2 separate regions of the Homo sapiens genome follow, and region 1 is linked to region 2. The links are contacts of gene promoters, found by promoter capture Hi-C in blood cells and fetal thymus (Javierre and others, 2016). All regions are on one chromosome and are shown on one strand. Each heading gives the region's core, a stretch centred on a gene start or on the middle of the fragment in contact. The rest is flanking DNA. Distances are from core to core; before and after follow the strand shown.

Region 1 (6,866 bases), core at 4,305-6,804, 75 kb after region 2:
GTGAATTCCAAATGGGGTGTGGGGCTGGGCGCAGTGGCTCACACCTGTAATCCCAGCACTTTGGGAGGCCGAGGCAGGCAGATCACTTGAGGCCAGGAGTTTGAGACCAGCCTGGCCAACATGGCAAAACCCCATCTTTACTAAAAGTACAAAAAAACTGGCCGGGCGTGGTGGCATGCACCTGTAGTCCCAACTATTTGAGAGGCTGAGGCAGGAGAATCACTTGAACCCAGGAGGCGGAGGTTGCGGTGAGCTGAGATTGCACCATTGCACTCCAGCCTGGGTGACAGAGCGAGACCTTGTCTCAAAACAAATAAATGGTGTGTGGGCAGAATCTGATCAACTCAGGGTCTCTTCTGGGCTCGGGCTCAGCCTCATCCTCCGGCATGCCCCCGGCCTTCCCCCTGCGCTCTACCTCCTGCCATCACCAGGGGACTCTGAGGGGCATTATTGGCAGGATCCCTTCTGCCTCTGCTGCCCCCCGCTAGCCGTAGAAGGAAGGAAGCCCGTGGGGCTGGGAGGAAGCTGCCTCATTGCTGGGTAGGGTGGCTGTGAAAGCCCTTTCTTCTTTCCATCCCACACTGCCCGCTCCTGGCCGAGCGGTGGCCAGGGGGATCCTTCCTTCTACCCCACACGGCCCCTTGAAGCTGGCAGGCAAGCTGAGGTCCTGAATGCCCCCTTCCCAGGTGGTGCCTACTCCACAGGACCTCTGAGGACTTGGAGGCATCCATCCTGGACTTTGAAACTGATACCACCGCTGGCCTATCCCGCTCTCTCACTGGGCTGCTACGCCAAGGGTGTTTAAGGATGTTTGTGGAGTAAATGTAAGAGTCTGGGCCAGGCCCAGTGGCTTGCACCTGTAATCCCAGCACTTTGGGAGGTCGAGGTGGGAGGATTGCTTAAGACCAGGAGATAGAGACCAACGTGGGCAACATAGTGAGAACCCATTGCTTAAAAAAAAAGAGTTGAGAGGACACAGCACTAAGAGCAAGAGAGGGGAAGTCAGTGGGCCCCGGAAGGCAGGAAGGGCCTCAGGGAGGGGTGAGGAATGGGGGCTCAGGGAGGGGAGTGGGGTTTAGGGAGGGGATGTGATGTCAAGGGCAGGGAGGGTGGGGGCTTGAGGGGGGACTCAGAGGGAGCATGGGATGAAGCTGGTCAAAGAGGGAATGAATGGGGCTCAGTGAGCCAGATGAGAGAGAGACAGGAGATAGACAGTGAGAGAGAGAGAGAGACAGAGACAGAGGGAGAGACAGAGAGGGAGAGGAGAGGAAGAGAGAGGGGGGGAAAGGAGGGGGAGAGACAGAGTGAGAGACAGAGAGAAGGAAAGAGAGAAGAGAAAGGGAGAGAGAAGGGGGAGAGGGAGTGAGAGAGGGAAAGAGAGAAAGGCAAGGGGGGAGAATGAGAGAGAGAGAGAGGAGAGAGAGGGAGAGAGAGAAAGAGGAGGGGGTAGAGACAGAGAGAAAGTGAGAGAGAGAGAGGAGAGAGAGAGGGAGAGAGACAGAGTGAGAGAGAGAGGAGAGAGAGGGAAAGGGGGGAGAATGAGAGAGAAAGAGAGAGGGGGGAGAAAGAGAGGAGGGGGGAGAGAGAGAAAGTCAGAAAGTGAGAGAGAGAGGAGAGAGAGGGAGAGAGACAGAGTGAGAGACAGAGAGAGGAGAGAGATGGAAAGAGAGGGAGGAGAATGAGAGAGAGAGGGGGGAGAGAGGGAGAGAGAAAAAGAGAAGAGAAAGGAGAGAGAGAGGAGGGGATAGAGAGAAAGTAAAGGAGAGAGAGAGGAGGGTGGGAGAGAGAGAGGAGAGCCAGGGTCAGAGGGAAAGAGAGAAGACAGAGGGAGAGAGACGGGGCAGGGAGAGACAAGGGACAGAGAGACAGTGTGAGAGAGAGAGAGAAAGAAAGAGGAGGGGGAGAATGAGAGAGAGAGAGGAGAGAGGGGGGAGAGTGAAAAAGGAGGGGAATAGAGAGAGAAAGAGAAAGTGAGAGAGATAGAGGAGAGAGACAGAGTGAGAGACAGAGAGAGAGGAGAGAGAGAGGGAAAGAGAGGAAGGGGGAGAATGAGAGAGATGAGAGAAGGGGGAGAGAGAAGAGGGGGTAGAGAGAAAGTGAGGGGAGAGGGAGAGAGGAGCCTGGAGGAGAGAAGAGAGAGGGAGAGGAAAGGGAGGGGGAGAGAGAGAAAGAGAGAAAGCGGGGAGAGAAGAGAGTAAGAGTGAGGGATGAGAGTGAGAGAGAGTGCTGGGGGGACTCAGGGACTAGGAGGAGGTTCAAAGCCGGGCTGGGGCTCTGGGAGGAGCCCGAGGCGGTCCCAGCGTCTTTCTCTGCCCACCTGGGGTGGCCCCACACCTGCGGCTCCTCCCTCCCCGAGCCCAGCCCGCGGCTGGGGGCCGGGCACCGAGCCCCCGGGGAAAGTAGAGGGGGTTAAAGGTGAGCGGGCACGAGCCGGCGGCAGACGGGGATTGGCAGGCGCCCGAGCCCAGGGCCCGGGCCATGGCTGCCCCACAGGCCTCTGAGCGGCTGAGCGGCTGCCGCCCACGTGCTAAGGAGAGAAGGAGGCACCAGATCAAGGGGCAAAGGACACCTCGGAGCGGGGCGGGGGTGCCCGCGTCCACACCCGCTGCTAAAAGCCGGGCCCGCGGCGCAGCGCACGGAGCCCTCTGCCGCCCGCGCGGAGAAGGCGCCGGGCGCGGTCCGGCGGTCCCAAGCATCCCCGCAGCGCCCCCGCCGCCCGCCGCCCGCCCCTGGCCGCGCCGCGCCCCTCTGCAGGTCGAGCGGATTCCAGGTGAGGGCGTGGAGCCCCCGCGTCATCAGGTGGGTGCAGGGGCCTCACCCAAGGGGAATTGGATCCGCCTCTGTGCTGGGCCTCAGTTTCCCCTCTGCCCATAGAGGCGCGCGTCTCTGGCTCAGCTGGGTTGAAGGGGTTCATAGGCTTATGTGGCCTCCTCGCTCAGCCTCAGCTGCCAGGAGGAAGGAGGCAAACTCGTACCCCAGGGAGGACTCCGGATCAGGAATCCAAGAATTCATCCTGCTAGAAGGTGAAGTGCACACGGGTCCTGGAAGCCCCGTGTCTCCCACTGGCTGGACTGGGCTGGGCTTCCATCCTGGTCTGGGAGGTTCTCCCAGGAGCTGAGAGGGGGCCCAGGGAGTCAGGAGGGAGGGCCTTCCTCCCTCTGGCTCTCCCTGCCCTGGGCAGGTGACATGCCAGTGGAGAAACCCTGTCCAGGTGGGCCCTGGGATGAGGAGGACCAAAACTGCCCCTGGCTGGGACAGAAAGAAGGGAGATGGCAGGGTGGGGTATGTGGATTCTGGCCCCTAGGCTTCTAGCCAACAGGTGGGGGCCACAGAAGTGGTGGCCGGCACTCCTGCTGCTCTGCCCAGGGGGGAAAGCCAGGGCTTCCTCCCAGCCACCCTGCCCCCACCTCTGGGCTGGGTTTGGGAGCTTTGGGTTCTTGTCTGTGTCTGACTGTGTGACCTTGGGCGCACGACTTTCCGTCTCTGGGCCTGGCTCTCCCTCCGTGACATGGGAAGGTTTACTGTTCCTGGGCCACTCGTGTGGAGATGGGGACAGAGTAAAACGGAACACCAGGTTGCTTTGGGGGACAGTGTGGCCCACTCCAACCAAGTCCCTCTGGGCCTTCACAAGGGGGATGGTGTTACAGGGTCAGCTGAGTCAGGAAGTCAGGGGGACCAGGGATCTATGAGAGCTGAGCTGGTCCCCACTTTGCCCAAGAACTTATCTTACACTCAGCAACTCCCCTGCCCCATGTCCTGCCCAGGCCCTCAGATGCAGGAGAAGTCTCAGAATACAGGTCTGGGAATCTCAGGTCCGCCCCAGGGAAGCTCAGCTCCTCAGCCTAGGGTAGCTTCTGGGAGAGGAGGAAGATTCTGTAATACCAGAAGAGGTCTGAGCTGTAGTAGCCAGGAGTTTCCCCATCTTGAGAAGATGACCCATCTCACTTCTCCCTAATTGCCCCCTAAGGACACAGTCTGCTGGCTGAGCCAGGCCAGGGCTCAGTTTAGAATCAGGGTTGGGGCTCAGGCTGGGGTTGGGACTCAGCCTGGGGACCACATGGGAGGGCAGCTCAGAGCCAGGGTCCAGGAAGCATCCGCCTGGTGTCTTGGAATCCTGTGATTGAAATCCTCTGGCCGATATAGGGGTGGCACTGGTGGAGATGATGTTTGTCAGCTGAAGTGGAGGGCTGGCATATGAGCTTCTGCAGGCTGTAGAGTGGGATGGAAGAGTGGACTGGAAGCGTGGAAGTGGGAGAGGTCATGTCTCCGAGGCTCCTGCAGCCACACTTGCCCAGAGTCTCTAGTGCCTTCAGGCAATGGCCCTCCCTGGGTACCCTCCCCGGGGCTGTCTTTGGCCCTGCTGCCAGCCCTGTGGTGGCTAAATGCAAGCTTAGACATGTGTTGGGTTTGTCAGGGGCTGGGAGAGGCCATCATTAGTGCAGTCCTCACTCTCTGGTTAGGGCCAAAGAAAAAGTTTTGGCTACAGATGTGGGGCAGAGGAGGGAAGAGAGAGGGGACGTGCAGGCTTAGGATTGCTGTTCAGATAGGAGAAGAGGAAGAGGAACTGGGGTTTGCTATGCATTTACTGCAAGCCAGGCACTGCACAAGCTTTTCTGGCACTGTTTCCTTCTTCCTGATAACCAGAGAAGGAAAAGATCTCCATTTTACAGATGAGGAAACAGGCTCAGAGAGGTCAAGGCTCTGGCTCAAGGTCACACAGCCTGGGAACGGCAAAGCTGATATTCAAACCCAAGCATCTTGGCTCCAAAGCCCTGGTTTCTGTTCCCACTACTGTCAGTGACCTTGGCAAGCCCTGTCCTCCTCCGGGCTTCACTCTGCACACCTGTAACCTGGGGTTAAATGGGCTCGCCTGGACTGTTGAGCAGAGCTGGGAGGAGGTCTGGAAGCAACATGGGTGGTGCATTCTCTGCATTCAGGGAGAAACACACAAGAGGGGATTACATTGGCTGACCCCCAACCTCCCAGGTCAGCTCATGGGTGTCCATGTGTCCTGCGCCCACCTCACCCACCTCCACCCCCTCCCCACCCATCTTTCTCACTCCTGAAACTTAGGGGCAAGGTGGCTCTGTCTCTCCTCTTTGAAGTTAGCTAAGCTGACCTTGGAGAAGGGGGCCCCCAACAAGGGAAGAGTGAACAGAATATTCCCAGGGTAGGTCCTGGCACTGATAAATAAGAGACAGACAACTACTGCCCTAGGGCCAGAGGCAGTGGCTCAAGCCTGTAATCTCAACACTTTGGGAGGCCAAAGTGGGAGGGTTGCTTGAGGCCAGGAGTTCAAGACCAGCCTGGACAGCATAGAAAGATCTGTGTCTCTGCAACAAATTAAAAAATTAGCCAGGTGTGGTGGCACAGGCATATAGTCATAGCTACTCAGGAGGCTGACACAGGACGATCACTTGAGACCAGGAGTTTGAGGCTGCAGTGAGCTATGATGTCACCACTGCATTCCAGCCTGGGCAACAGAGCAAGAACCCCTCTCTTAAAAAAAAAAAAATGCTCTACCCAGAATCCCAGGCCACCCCCTGCTAGCTGGCTTGGGTAGTCACAAAAGTTCTTGTCCCATATTCAGCCCCATTAGCAGTGTGACTTTGGGCGAGAGATATGCTTCCTGGGATCCACTTTCTATCTCAGTCCAGGGGCCTGATGCCCTGATGGGGCCGGCATGGGGCCAGTTATCCAGCAGGGGAGAGGCCAGGAGATTCTGGGCAGAGCAGATGACTGTCACCTGCTGCAACAGTCTGAGAAGCGTTTTCCATCCCTGAGTCCCCTGGAGGAGATTGTCGCCCTATCTTCTTTGTCCTACAGCTCCTGGTTCTCTGACATTGTAATCAGAGATGTCGACCAGGAAGGAAGGAAAGAAGAAAGGGCGGGCTGGGGGGAGGAAAAGAGGGACAGAAGAAGAAAACCCACATTTACCAGGTACCACTGGCTCTCACTTACATATTTCATTTCATCTTTGCAACAACTGCACAATAACATCACATAGTCATAGCCATTTTAAAGATGAGAAAACCGGCAAGGCACAGTGGCTCGTGTCTGCAATTTTAACACTTTGGGAGGCTGAGACGGGTGGATCGTCTGAGGTCAGGAGTTCAAGACCAGCCTGGCCAACATGGCAAAACCCTGTCTCTACTAAAAATACAAAAATTAGCCGGGCATGTTGGCGGGCACCTGTAATCCCAGCTACTTGGGAGGTCCTAAGGCAGGAGAATCACTTGAAGCCTGGGGGTGGAGGTTGCAGTGAGCCGAGATCAAGCCACTTCACTCCAGCCTGGGAGAAAGAGCTAAACTCAGCTTCAAAAAAAAAAAAGACAAAACCAGTCCTCAGCCAGGTGCAGTGGCTCACATCTGTAATATCAGAGCTTTGGGAGGCCAAGGCAGGAGGATTGCTTGAGACCAGAAGTTTGGGACCAGTCTGGGCAGCCTAGTGAGACCCTGTCTCTACAAAAAAATTAGCCAAGCATGGTGGCACAAGCTTATAGTCCCAGCCACTCAGGAGGCTGAGGCAGAAGGATTGCTTGAGCCCAGGACTTTGAGACCAGCCTGGGCAACATAGTGAGACCCCCCATCTATATAAAAATTTTTAAAAATTAGCCAGGGGTGGTGATGCACACCTGTAGTCCCAGCTACTTGGGAGGCTGAGGCGGGAGGATCACTTGAGCCAGGAGTTCAAAGTTGCAGTGAGCCATGGTGGTGCCGCTGCACTGAAGTCTAAGCAAAAGAGCAACACCTTGCCTCCAAAAAATAAAATAAAGTGTCTACTATGTGCCAGCTGTCCCCTCTGTCCTAGTACCTGCTGATTAGCTCAGTCTTGGGTGGATTTACCTGACACATGATGTTTGCAA
Region 2 (7,132 bases), core at 3,196-5,695:
GACCACAGACTGCATGGGGGCAAGGGCTTGTCCATCTTTTTTTCTGCCATATTCCCAACATCTAGAATAGCGGGCACATAGTAGATGCTCAATAAATACTTTTTTATTTGTATATATTTTTGGACAGGGTCTCACTCTGTTGCCCAGGCTGGAGTAGAGTGGCACAATCATGGCTCACTGAAGGCTCAAACTCCTGGGCTCAAGCAGTCCTCCCACCTCAGCCTCCTAAGTAGCTGGGAGTACAGGTGTGCACCACGATGCTCAGCTAATTTTTAGAAAAATATTTTTCTTTGGAGACAGGGTCTCCGTGTGTTGCCCAGGTTGATCTTGAACTTCTGGCCTCAAGCGATCCTCCTGCCTCGGCCTCCCAAAGTGCTGGGATTACTGGTGTGAGCCACCACCACACTCAGCCTAATAAATACTTTTTTTTTTTTGAGACGGAATCTCGCTCTTTCGCCCAGGCTGGAGTGCAGTGGTGCGATCTCTGCTCACTGCAAGCTCTGCCTCGCAGGTTCACGCCATTCTCCTGCCTCCGCCTCCCAAGTATCTGGGACTACAGGCGCCCACCACCATGCCCGGCTAATTTTTTTTTTTTTTTTTTTTTTGTATTTTTGGTAGAGACAGGGTTTCACCATGTTAGCCAGGATGGTCTCGATCTCCTGACCTCGTGATCCGCCCACCTCAGCCTCCCAAAGTGCTGGGATTACAGGCATAAGCCACCATGCCCGGCCAATACTTTTTAAATGAAGGAATGAAGCCTGGGTATGGTAGCTCATGCCTGCAATCCCAGAAATTTGGGAGGCCGAGGTGGGTGGATCACCTGAGGTTAGGAATTCGAGACCAGCCTGGCCAAGGTGGAGAAACTCCATCTCTACTAAAAATACAAAAAATTAGCCAGGTGTGGTGGCACATGCCTGTAATCTCAGCTATCTGGGAGGCTGAGGCAGGAGAATTGCTTGAACCCGGGAGGCGGAAGTTGCAGTGAGCCAAGATTGTGCCATTTTACTCCAGCCTGGATGACAAGAGTGAAACTCGGTCTCTAAATAAATAAAGGAATGATAATCTGGCCCTCGATGGGCTTCCCTTTTCTGCACAATAGTTTAGCATCCAAGGCCTCCCCCTTCCTTGGGCTCATCCCCCACCTATGTCCACCCAAGTGCCACAGCAGGCTCCTGAGGTGCTCCCGGTAGAGTGCTCCATTTTAGAGAGCTCCCCACCCCCACCCCTGCCCCAGCATCCTTCCTTTGTCCACTCCCTGCTGCAATCCCACTGCAACACCCTGTTCGAATGTCACCACCTCTGGGAAGCCACCCTGGTTCCCTCACCTACCAAAACCATGTCTGTCTCCCCCACTGCAGTGGGAACATCTTGAGTGCAGAACAGTGGCCCCAGAGCATGGTTTCCCATTTAATGTTTGATGAATGAATGAATGATTAAATGAGGAAAAGACTTAGCAGAAAAACAGAGTTTAAAGAGAAGGGCAAGCCCGGGTGCAGTGCCTCACACCTGTAATCCCAGCACTTTGGGAGGCCAAGGCGGGTAGATCATTTGAGGTCAGGAGTTCAAGACCAGCCTGGCCAACATGGTGACGCCCCATCTCTACTACAAATACAAAAATTAGCTGGGCGTGGTGGCGGGTGCCTGTAATCCCAGCTGCTCAAGAAGCTGAGGCAGGAAAATCACTTGAACATGGGAGGTGGAGGTTGTAGTGAGCCTGGATTGCACCACTGCACTGCAGCCTGGGTGACAGAAAGAGACTCAGCCTTAAAAAAACAAACAAACAAAAAAAAGAAGTGAAAGGCACACTTTTTTTTTTTTTTTAAGAGATGGAGTCCAGGCTGGTCTTAAACTCCTGGCCTCAAGCAATCCTCCCTCCTGGGCCTCCCAAAGTGCTGGATTACAGGCATGAGCCACTGTGCCTGGCCACATTTATTTCTTTATTCATTTTTCATGCTACTATTTAATATGCGTCTCAATGAGTGATGCTTGGTGTGACACCAGGGCTCTCAGAGGGCAGGAGCTGAGCCTCCCTTTCCTGCCCTCTCCCTAAGGGGCCAGACACTGGGCTCTGGGGGCATACCTGTGACCCACCCCACTGACTCACCCTGCAGGCTAGACCAGGAGTCAGGCAGACTCCCCTGTCACTTGTCATCTCTGGGCAAGTTCCTCTAGCACTTACCTCCTTACTTTTCCTCTGTGAAGTGGGGCGCCATCAATGCCCATTCTGCAGGGCACCCAAAGTTGAAGCCGGGACAACTGGAACAGGGTGTGGCTGTTCCCTCTGCCAGGCCACATCGGACCGTCTTGGGCCAGATTTTCCAGGGAAGAAGGGAAAGCTGGAACAGTGTCCCTAGCTTGCCTGGCAGCCAGCTAACCTGTGCCCATAGTCTGGGAGAGGTGCCAGGCCCAGACACACTGGGCAGCAGGGGGCTGGATTGGCTCCAGAGCTCCAATGCTTTGGCAGTCCTGGGGAAGGGAAGGGATGTGCTTGGCTTCAGGTCAAGAGGGTGTGGGCCACAGAAGTGACAGCTGGGGGTGGTGGAGGGCACAGCGGGCTTATGGGGGTGTGTGCGAGACCACTGTTGCAACAAGATGCTGGCAGGGACCTTCAAAAGAACATCTGCTGTTGACTGGCCTCCCCACTCCCACTCCTCCACAGGTTTTCCCATGAGTCCTAGAGGAAGCCAGGCCCCAGGCTTCTAGATAGAAAATAGAACCTACATTGGCCAAGTGTAATCCCAGTGCTTTGGAAGCCCAAGCCAGGAGGATCGCTTGAGGCTAGGACTTTGAGACCAGCCTGGGCAACATGAGGAGACCCCGTCTTTACAAAAACGAAAAAAGAGAAAATAGAACCTCAGGCCTAGAGCCAGAGTTCAGGATTGGGGATGCAGGGAAAGGAGGAGAGGGGGGCCATAACTCAAATCTCTTTCCCAAAGATAGAGTAGTTCCTGGCTGGGTGCAGTGGCTCACACCTGTAATCCCAGCACTTTGGGAGGCTGAGGCAGGCAGATCACTTGAGGTCAGGAGTTCGAAACCAGCCTGGACAACATGGTGAAACCCCTTCTCTACTAAAAATACAAAAAAATTAGCCAGGCGTGGTTGTGGGTGCCTGTAATCTCAAGCTACTTGGGAGGCTGAGGCAGGAGAATTGCTTGAACTCGGGAGGTGGAGGTTGCAGTGAGCCAAGATCGTGCTACTGCACTCCAGACTGGGCAACAGAGTGAGACTCCGTCTCAAAAAAAAAAAAAAAAAATAGGCCGGGCACGGTGGCTCACGCCTATAAGCCCAGCACTTTGGGAGGCCGAGGCGGGAGAATCAAGAGGTCAAGAGTTTGAGACCAGCCTGCTCAACATGGTGAAACCCTGTCTCTACTAAAAAATACAAAAAATTAGCCGGGCGTGGTGGTGGGCACCTGTAATCCCAGCTACTTGGGAGGATGAGGCAGGAGACTCGCTTGAACCCAGGAGGCAGAGCTGAGATAGCGCCACTGCACTCCAGCCTGGGCGACAAGAGTGAAACTCCATCTCATAAATAAATAATCAAACAAACAAACAAACATAAAAAGATAGAGGAGTTCCTTCATCCTGCAGGAAAAAGGGGTGGGTCACGCAGCATCAGAGCTGTGAACTGAGAAATCCTAGGGAAAGAAGAGGCCAGTGCCTGAGTCCCTACTGGATGATGGGAGCAAGGGGGAAGGGTGGAGGCTCCCAGACTGGAACTCTCCAGGAGGTTTTTGGCTGGGGAACAGAAGGGAGAGCAGGAGGTCCCAAGGTAATGAAATGAAGGAGGGAGTTACAACCTTCAGCAAATTCTGGGGAAGTGAAGGGATCTGAGGATGAGGACCGGATTCTGGGACAGGGATGCTGAGCTGCTAAGTCGGGAAGAGGCTGGAAGCCAGGCACGGTGGCTCACGCCTGTAATCGCAGAGCTTTGGGAGGAGGGAGGATCGCTTGAGGACAGGAGTTCAAGACCAGCCTGAGTAACATAGCAAGACCCTGTCTCTACAAAATATTTGAAAATTATTCAGGAGTAGTGGCGAGCAACTCTAGTCCCAGCCACCCAGGAGACTGAGGCGGGAGGATTGCCTGAGCTCAGGAGCTCAAGGCTGCAGTGAGCTATGATTGCACCACAGCACTCCAGCCTGGGCGACAGAGCGAGACCCTGTCTCCAAAAATAATAAATAAAAAACGAGACAGGGCTGGGGCAGAGGAGGCAGCAGGGTCTCTGGGGACCCATCCCCGGGAGCGATCACGCGTGCGGAACGTCCAGGACGAGACCCCAGGGCTTCGATCCCCACGGGGCTGCTCGTGCGGGGTGGGGCGGGGTCTGGGCGGGGTCTGGGCGGGGCCCGGGCGGGGTGGGGCGGGGCCGGGGTCCCGGGGGCCGGGGCGGGGCCGGGCTGGCGCTGCGCAGCCGCGGGGCGGCCGTCGCGCATGCGGGGCTCACACGGCTGCAGCCGGCGCCGCTGCCACTCCCGGGAGCATGAAGGACCGAACCCAGGAGCTCCGCACGGTGAGTCCGGCCCCAGCGCGCGGCCGCCCGCCGCCCGCCGCCAGCGCCAACGCGCCGGACACTTCCCGCCCGGCTCCCGCGGCCAGGATGGTGGCCGCTCCTGCGCCCCCAGCCAGGGCTGAAGGGAGCGGGGCGAGCCAGGGACCTCGACCCCCCTCCGGGTTCCGCCCCTCGGACCCACTCGGGGTCAGGCTCGCGTGAGCTCGGCCGCGCTGACACGTGGACGGTCGGCTGGAGTCCGGGGTCCTGGATAAACTTTTCGGGGCCCTCTTGATTTGGGGGGTTCGGAGGGTATGATGGGGTTTTGGTGGCGGGACCTCTTCCCCCTCCCGCAGAGCAGGCCCTTTCTCTGGCCCCCTCACTGCCCCTCATCTCTGACCTCCCGTGCCCCCTCGGTGTAGACAGACGAGGGGACCGCGGTGGGAACCTCCTTGGTGTAGACAGACGAGGGGACCGCGGTGGGCCGGTGCCGGTCCCCTGCGCGGGGCCCCGCTGCGGGGCGCGCTGCGGAAACCTGATCGTCGGGTGGTGGCGGCCTCCTCGGGCCACCCTGGTCACCTGTGGCTCCCATCACCTGTGGCTCCCCCTCTGCTTGGTCGCAGTAGGGATCCACTGCCCGCCCCAGGTATGGGGGGGGGGGCGTCACACCCGCCCCCGGTCCACCTATCCACCTTCGGGCTTTCGGGCAGCACTGGCTGGCGTTTCCAGACCCTTCAGGGTTCCTTGCGACTTGGATCTATTTTTCTACCTGTATCTGGGAAACCCCTGGGGTGTGGCTCCTGGGGCGGGGTTTGGGGGGAGTAGGAGGATGCACAAACGTTCTGAGTCAGAGCCCACCTTCTCCCAGCCCAGAGACCCCTGCAGCCTGCGTGGGTCCCCTTCCCCTGGCCTCTGCCCTTAGGGATGAGGAGCCCAGGAGGATGGTGACCGGGAGTGGAGGACAGCGACGGAAATGAAGCCTCTCTGGGTGTGTCGGGGAGGGGGGGTGGATCAAGGCTCAAGACTAGATTGAGTCTCATCTGGTCATCTGGTCCCCTGGCTGGCCACCTGGCTGGCAGCCCTGCCTGCTGATCCCTGGGAGCACCCCCCACCCCGCTCCCTGGGCTAGGAACTAGAACCCTAAGGTCCCCTCCTATGGAAAATGTCAAGTGTCCTTTGGGCATTTGACCCCACGGCTTGTCTTCTCCACCCAGAGGCTCCCTGAGTTGGAGCCTGTCTGCCCCATTATGTCATGGTTGCCTCCTGGGCATCCTGGAGCCGGGACCTGGGCTCCCCTGCCTTCATGTCCCCCACTTGCTCTGGCACCACGGCCTCCACTTTGCCTCCAGACCTGTTATTCCTGGCCGAGCGCCCAGCCCCTGGTGTAAACCCCATGAGGTTTCAAAGGAAGAAGATGGTCCCTCAAGTCGCATATGGGCTCTAAACACTTCCCCCGCGGCCCCTGTGGTTGCCCTCAAGTTTCCTGAGCTCCGTTGAGTCAGAATGAGTGTTTTCCTGGTGACGGATGGCTGTGTGGTGTAATGTGCTGATGTTTAGGCGCCTGGTAGGTTACCTGAGGGTGTGTGTGGGAACCAAGTGGTCAGGGGAACCATGGGCCCCTACATAGGATAATAGCCTCTGGCATGTCAGCCTTCATCCCCCTAGCTGAAGGGGAAACTGAGGCACAAAAGAAACACGGCTTGCCTGCTAGAGGGAGGGGTGGTAGAAAAGGGCTTTGCCTCATCCCTGAAGATAGTCAGACTCAGGCCTGGCTGACACTGGGGGACAGCCAGTGGAGCTGGGGTTGTGAAGCGTTTGAACCCAGATCTTTTTGCTCTGATGTCTGTCTCTGTTACTACCTCCTCGCCCCCTGATTAGATGGTGAAGCCAGGCTTTGCTTTGAATGGTCTGAGGCTTCCGCTCCAGACACCCCCACCCTCCCCACACAAGGCATTCAGAGCCCAGGGAGGCTGTACCCATTGCTGGGTGGCCCTGCCCAGGGAGGGCTTTCTAGCAGACAGGTGGACGGCTGGCAGGCAGGAGCCCACCCGGGGTGGGGTGAGACAGTCAGTCTTGGTGGGGCCACTGTTCCCACAGGCTGCTTTCCCTCTGGACCTAGGGTTCCCATCTGTGAAGTGGGGATGGGAAAGCCTAGAATTCAGTTTCTCGGGACGAGAAGCAGGGCTACAGGTCTCCTGACTCCAGCTCCACATTTGTAGGAGGCCTGAAGCCCCAGGAGTCAGAATTTTCAGCCCAGAATCCCCAGAAAGGAAGAGGCCAGCACTGGCTGAGCTGGACTGGGCTGGACTGGGCTGGACTGGGGCGGGCTGGGCTGGGCTGGGCTGAACAGAGATGGTGCTGGGGACAGCGGCTGTGCACCGCTCCCAGCCCTCCCTCCCTCCCTCTTCCTCCTCCTCCTCCCTCTTCTTTCTCCTTCTCCCCCACCCAACACCACCACATTTGGAAGGAGGCGAAGAGAGCTTATTTATAAAAGTCACACTTGGGGAAGGAGCTGGCGCGTTTCCTCACTCTGCAGGCCCGGCCCAGCCCTCCAGCCTTCTCCAGCCTTCTCCAGCTCCCAACTCTCCCTCTGCAGATGGGGAGTGAAGGGGGTCACTGGGGACTAGCCAGGGGGCCTCAA

Evidence for each region. The method cuts DNA at HindIII sites, captures the fragments that hold promoters and counts their contacts. A CHiCAGO score of 5 or more calls a contact.
Region 1: a contact is called between a fragment that was not itself captured here and the fragment with the promoter of STX1A in region 2, in 5 of 17 cell types (total CD8 T cells, erythroblasts, total CD4 T cells and 2 more). The highest score is 6.2, in total CD8 T cells.

Annotation. Positions count from the first base shown.
Region 1 is chr7:73,643,679-73,650,544 of GRCh38, reverse strand. It overlaps a transcript of MLXIPL not described here. Among named protein-coding and RNA genes, the nearest start is that of VPS37D, 21 kb to the left of the region's middle. RefSeq lists silencers at 2,315-2,364, 2,405-2,474. The HindIII fragment of the contact is 1,888 bases long and covers 4,611-6,498 here.
Region 2 is chr7:73,716,982-73,724,113 of GRCh38, reverse strand. It overlaps STX1A (syntaxin 1A), which reads left to right and starts at 4,445. Exons shown (of 10, transcript NM_004603.4): 1 at 4,445-4,512. The coding sequence starts at 4,483. RefSeq lists silencers at 4,330-4,529, 4,590-4,789, 4,800-4,859, 4,970-5,049. The HindIII fragment of the contact is 14,118 bases long and covers 1-7,132 here.